Linked DNA regions of Homo sapiens: region 1 is linked to region 2. Evidence: promoter capture Hi-C in 16 types of primary human blood cells and fetal thymus (Javierre and others, 2016). All regions are on one chromosome and are shown on one strand. The core of a region is centred on a gene start or on the middle of the fragment in contact, and the rest is flanking DNA. Distances in the headings are between cores, read along the strand shown. Region 1 holds the start of CYB561A3 (cytochrome b561 family member A3). Region 2 holds the start of TIMM10 (translocase of inner mitochondrial membrane 10).

Region 1 (3,060 bases), core at 521-3,020, 3.8 Mb before region 2:
CTAGGCAGAAAAAGCAGAGAGGAAACAGGGGTCTCCTGGAAAGCTTTATCTTTAGGGTTATGGTTGCAACACAGTGGCAGTTGTTTCTTTTCATCTATTCCAAGACCCACAAGTTGCTCTGGGGGTGTCCTATGACCCGCTGCTGTGCCAAATCTATAAAGAAATTTCAAAATGCTCTGGAGTGTTAGCGATTAAATTAGCATCGGTAAAATGTTTTGCAATTTATAAGCTCTTTTCATATTTCTAACCTTACGTAATCCTACAACCATCTTGAGAAGTAGCCATTACAATGTATATTATCCCCATTTTACACAGAGGCTCCGGAAGGTTAAGGCACCTCCTCCACCTCAGCTGGTGAAGTCCCACCTTATTGGACATATGTTCGCGGTTTCCTCATTCATTAAATTTTAGAGAGAGAGAGAGTGTCTCGCTCTGTCGCCAGGCTGGAGTGCAGTGGCATGATCTTGGCTCACTGCAACCTCCGCCTCTCGGGTTCAAGCGATTCTCCTGCCTCAGCCTCCCAAGTAGCTGGGACTACAGGTGCGTGCCACCACGCCTGGCTAATTTTTTGTATTTTTAGTAGAGACGGGGTTTCACCATGTTAGCCAGGATGGTCTCGATCTCCTGACCTCGTGATCCTCCCGCCTCGGCCTCCCAAAGTGCTGGGATTACAGGCGTGAGCCACTGCGCCCGGCCGCATTAAATAACACTGATAGCTACTACCTAGGTACTCACACCACGATAAACTTGTCAACCAAGATCGTTTCCTTTAATCCTCCCTACAAGTCTGCAAGGTGGGAATTATTCCTATTCTACAGGAAAGGACACAGAAGTCAGAGCTCAAGGCATTCCTCCAGGTCTCAAGTCAGCAGAACCCGGCTTCATAACTGTGACGCCAAACCCGTGCTCTTAACCACTACTCATAGGCCACCATCCAGGGCTGTTTTGAGGATCCGTTATGCAGAAACGCCCATGCCTGTCTCTACGTACGACGATCCCCTCCAGTTTAGGGCAGTGGAGACTCACAAGCTCATGAAGCTCTTTAATTCGTCCACCGCTACCTGCCGCCTTCCCTTTGTACCTAGGGCAGTATTCCTCACGCTTCCCAATCCACTTAAAAACGAGGCTTCCTTGGCAAACAACAACAAAGCATAAAACCCAAGCCCAAAACAACAGCACCAAAAATTCTGACTTCTGGTCACTTAACCCACTCCTCGTCAATCACTCTCACCTCCAAACTCCAACGTCGGTTGTCATGCGGACATCGTCCCGGCTTCCGGAAGCCGGCTTTAAATTCCGGAAGTAAATGGAGGAGGCGGGCCCCGTCTGCGCCGTGCGGCCTGCTAGTCCCCGGCTTTCTCTTCCCGCTCTATGGCCAGTCTGGCCGCCATGTTGGAGCTTTCGCTGTTCGGGGCCCGGCCTGCTCCGGGCCCTCCCAGCGTCGCCGCTAGCTGACTTAGGGCTCCCGCCCACACTGCGCACGGCCTTGCTGAGGGCCGGCTCGTAGTGGGAGGCTTCGCGTTCACCTGAACATTTCCGCCTCCTCTGGATGGGGGATGAGAGGCGGGGCTGATGCATCGCAGCAGTCCTGGACCCTGACTTCGGACTTGGAGAAGAAACGCCGAGGAGGAACGGGAGTTAGGGGGTTAGCAGCTTGGCGCGCTGGGAGCCGGCCACCCCTGGTCTCCGGACTTCACTTCCCAGGAGGCCTCGCGCGCGACTGGAAGTGCTGCGAGCCTATAAGAAGGCGAGGCGGCACCCGCCGCTCTGCTCTGGGGCGGCATTGCCAGCCGGCTGTAGGCATTCAGGGCAGTGTCTTCTGCATCTCCTAGGAACCTCGGGAGCGGCAGCTCCGGCGCCTGGTAGCGAGAGGCGGGTTCCGGAGATCCCGGCCTCACTTCGTCCCACTGTGGTTAGGGGTGAGAAGGATCCCGGGGCTGGGAGTTCAGGGACCTGGGTTCGAATGCTGGTTCCGCTGCTATCTCGCTTCGCACTGTCGCGATCCCCTTGCTCGGCCTCAATTTTCTCTTTTAGAAAGTGGGCACCTTTCTCCGCGCTCTTCCTTCCAACGCGGTGGTTATAAAGGCACGAAAGCTCTTCAGAGGACGCAGAAAGCACCTGGAGCTCCTCACCCCAATTTTCACCCATTGTTAGCTGGCACGAGCACCCAGCAGAGGAGTCAGGGATCACCCCTCGGGTGCCTGGAACGGTTCTTTGGACACCTGAGCCGGACCTAGGCACAGCCTGAAGTCGGGGTCTATAATTATTCCGGTGCTAAGGGGTAACTTGTTCACCTACCTCCTTGGCAGGAATATTGAGCCCTTCACTCCTCATGTTCCGACTTTAACAGAAGCTACCTTTGAGAATAAGGAATCCTCAGAGCTGAGAGGGAGTGGACCCGAATTCCTGTACCAGCTCGGCCACTTACCTTGGCTAAGTCATTTTCTTGTTTTGGGCCCCAGTGTCACAGTGTTTTTGATTTGTAAGATGAGGGTTTAGGGCTTGTATCCTAAATCTGGTCCTCAAGATTCTTGAAGTCCCCCAGTCCATCGGGGAGGGAGAGCAACAAACTGATTTTCTACCCCTTCATTTATTTGTAGTTCTAAATTATAAAAGTAACACTGCAAGAGTTTGGAGTAGAGCCTTTTTCTTTTTCTTTCTTTTTTTTTTTTCTGAGACAGAGTCTCACTCTGTCGCCCAGGCTGGAATGCAGTGGCACGATCTCGGCTCACTGCAACCTCCGCCTCCCGGGTTCAAGCGATTCCCCTGCCTCAGCCTCCCAAGTAGCTGGGATTACAGGCGCCCGCTACCGCGCCCGGCTAATTTTTGTATTTTTAGTAGAGACGGGGTTTCTCCATGTTGGTCAGGCTGGTCTCGAACTCCTGACCTCATGTGATCCGCCCGCCTCGGCTTCCCAAAGTGCTGGGATTACAGGCGTGAGCTACCGCGCCCAGCCTGCGTAGAGCCTTTTTCTAAGACTAAGGGCTGGATGGGAACTAGCATTTCTTACCCCTGGATGTGACCTGTTTTAGCTCAGCCGGGAGAATCCTTTTTCGCAAG
Region 2 (3,260 bases), core at 357-2,856:
CCAATGTTGACTATATTTTCAAAGGCAAAAACCAAGGCAAGATATGTCCATCTGTACAAGAGTATCATAGCAGCATTATTGCATAATAGGCAAAAACTGGAAACAATCCAAACATCCACCAACGGGAGAATGGATAGATGAATTGTGGCATACTCATACAATCAAACACTAGACAGCAATAAAACAGAAGGAATAACAGATGCACACAACAATATGGAGGAAATCTTACAGGTACATTGAGCTAAAGAAGTCAGGCACAAAATAGAAAATAATGTATAATTCCATTTACACGAAGTTCAAGAACAAGGAAAACTAATTGATGGTGATAGAGGTCAGAATAGTGGTTAACTTCGAGAGGGGGTATTGATGGGGAAGGAACACAAGATAACTTTTTGGGGTGCAGGAAGTATTTTATATCTTGATCTGGATGGCGGTTATACAAATGTACATATATAGATACATATATATTTAATTAAGCTTAACATTCGTGTATTTTATGCACTTTATGAATGTTATACCCCAATCTTTAAAAATCAGGGCACAAGTTTGGCAAAGATGAGTCTTCAAAGCAGTAGAAAGGTCAATTGTTTAAAATTAGGATGGTCTTGGACAATTAGGGAAGCTTATGATGACCACACAGAAAATGTCTAGCCCACCTTTTCCAATGGGCAATGTGCCCTTGCGTCATTAATTTACATCTTGTAAATTTATTTTACCAGGAAATTGTGTGACAAATCAAGGGACTGAGTATTGTTTCCTTGTTTCCTTCTTTTTAGTGGGGAATGAGTGAATGGTGCAGTTTGAAGAACACATTAAGTCTTGAAAGTTGGAAAGTTCACCAGTACCCTTCTTTCCCTCACCCAAGATTAGCCCTGGTGGCAGCCGAAATTGCTTTTATTATCTCTTTGTGGCTGAGGACCTCTAACTGTTGAAGAAAACATATTTTACACGTCTTGTCTTTCTGCGAACAGGAAGCCTATCTCGCTTATCTTTGCAACCCCAGACGGGGCTTAGTGTGACCTACACACAGCAGTAATCGCACAACGTCCCGTGGAGCACTGCTTCTCAAATTTGGCTGTACATACGAATCACCTGGGGAATTTTAAATTGTATTGCTGCCTGAGGAATTTTAAACTGTACTCCCAGAGATTCTGATTTAATTGAAATGAGGTGAGTCCTGGGCACTGGGATGTTTAAAAACGTTCCAGGTGATTTTAACGCGAAACAAAAACAGAACCGCTGTTTGGGGGCGTTCTTCCTTCTCCACGCCTGATTTGCGCACAGGAGTCGGCTGTCTGGAACGGGGGTGAGGTTCACAGGTGTCTGTCGCCACGCCTCTTCCTACAGAACCAATAAACTGAAGCCGCTCGGTGACATCCCAAAGGACTTGAATTCTGATCGGGCTGCAGACGCTCTGCACCCCGCCCAAGCTTCTATGGTACTTTGGTGTCCTCTCTAGCACTGGCAAGTCGCCTTCCTCTTCGCCCGGCGCCAGCCGCTCCCTCTCTATGATCGCCGAGTTCCCGGCGCCGTCTCGTTGGTATTTAATTCCGGAAGCGAGTTTGAATCAAAGAAGAGGCGGGACTTTCCTCCCGGAAGTAACCCACGTGCTTCCGCTGGAGCCTCTCGGGAGGCGGGTAACGTTATAGTATTTGTCAGAAGTTGGGGTCTCCGTGGGCATTGTGATCCGTCCCAGGCAGTGGTAAGTGACACATGACCTCTGAATTCAATGTGGCCCTGATGATGGCGTCGCCATTTCAGAGGTGTAGCCTTTGGGCTGGGTCCCGGTCGCCTCTGTTCAGCGTATGATCCCATTCCCAGGGCCCTGGAGGTTCAGGTTCGTGGGTTAGAGAGTTCTCCTCCGGTCCTCGATCTCCTGAATAGAGGTGACCTCCAGGAACTGGGGCATCAGAGATCCGGGGCTCGATTTCCAGGCTCGCCATAGACGTCCTGTGCGACCTTGGGCTAGGCCTCAGTTTCCACATCCGTGAAATGGGGTGGTTAAGCTCACTGAGGTTAGTGGCCCGTGGTGGTCTGGCGCCCTGTGAGTCCTCTGTATCCTCTAGCCCCAGGGGTAGGAGAGTGAACGGCGGCGGTGGGTGCTGATGGTGATGTCTGCTCCCAGGATTAGGAGGCCAGAAGGAGATCCCTTCCACGGTGCTAGGCTGAGATGGATCCTCTCAGGGCCCAACAGCTGGCTGCGGAGCTGGAGGTGGAGATGATGGCCGATATGTACAACAGGTAAAGAGAACTATGTGCTACCCTGTCTTGGAAAATAAGTCTTGGTCACCCTTATCGAAGGTGAATGACTTATGACAAATTCCTTCCTGAATGTAGGGGAGCCTGAGGCCCATGCTTACCCTCCCCACACCCACCTTCAAGGTTGATCCTAATGTAGATGCAGTAAAGGGTCACTAGAATGAGTTGGGCATTTAGATGGGGATGGAACTGGCAATGCAGGAGCCAAGCAGGAAGAGAAACTCCAATCCAGGCTCTGGTTAGGTTCCAAGAAAAGCTGAGTATTTGCCTCTTGACAAATAGCACATAGCCAGCCCATTTAGTAGTTAACATTTTAAAACCCTTTATTCTGTGTCAGGCACTTGTTAATCTTCAAAATAATCCAGTGGGTTAATTTTATTAGTCCCGTCTTAAAATGAGGAAATTGATGATTCTAGAGGTTAAGTAACTTCCTTAGGGTCGGCAGCTGGTCAGTAACAATGCCAGAACTAGCACCTCAGTCTGATTCTGCAACTAGTGCTCATAACCATTTGGCAAATTTGGGAACAAATCCTGGCTCCACCAATCACCAGCAGTATAATTGGACATGTTACTTGCACTGTTTGACAATTGGTTTCCTCATTATGAAGAAGACATAATGATACCTACCTCATAGGACATCATAAATATTAAATCTAAAAATATATGAAAGCCCTTAGCCTCAAGCCCAACACTTAGTGAAATGTCTGCTATTTTTATTGGCTTAAGCTCTCTTGATTGGTTGGTTTATCCTGAAGGCTATAAATTAGAAGGATTTTTAAGTGTAGACTGTGAGGTCAGATGACCTGGCTTCATAACCCAGCTCTGTGTGATCCTTAGAAAATTACTGAGCCTCTGTTTGCCTTAATTTCCTCATCTGTAAAATGGGGATACATGTCTCTTAGGGTTATTGTAAGCATTGCATAACAGAATGCAGGTAAAGCACTTAGCAGGATGCCTGGCATGTAGCCAGTCCTCAACAAATGGTTTCTACTTAGTTAGTC

Evidence for each region. Contacts are between HindIII fragments. The CHiCAGO score rates a contact against its expected background, and 5 or more counts as called.
Region 1: the fragment with the promoter of CYB561A3 here is called in contact with the fragment with the promoter of TIMM10 in region 2 in 1 of 17 cell types (erythroblasts); the score reaches 5.6 in erythroblasts.

What each region holds. Positions count from the first base shown.
Region 1 is chr11:61,360,592-61,363,651 of GRCh38, reverse strand. It overlaps CYB561A3 (cytochrome b561 family member A3), which reads left to right and starts at 1,770. Exons shown (of 7, transcript NM_153611.6): 1 at 1,770-1,919. TMEM138 (transmembrane protein 138) reads right to left here and starts at 1,278. Exons shown (of 5, transcript NM_016464.5): 1 at 1,232-1,278. RefSeq lists enhancers at 1,260-1,749, 1,160-1,881, 2,000-2,219. The HindIII fragment of the contact is 4,335 bases long and covers 46-3,060 here.
Region 2 is chr11:57,529,100-57,532,359 of GRCh38, reverse strand. It overlaps TIMM10 (translocase of inner mitochondrial membrane 10), which reads left to right and starts at 1,606. Exons shown (of 3, transcript NM_012456.3): 1 at 1,606-1,702; 2 at 2,126-2,241. The coding sequence starts at 2,171. RefSeq lists an enhancer at 1,427-1,606. The HindIII fragment of the contact is 3,024 bases long and covers 1,433-3,260 here.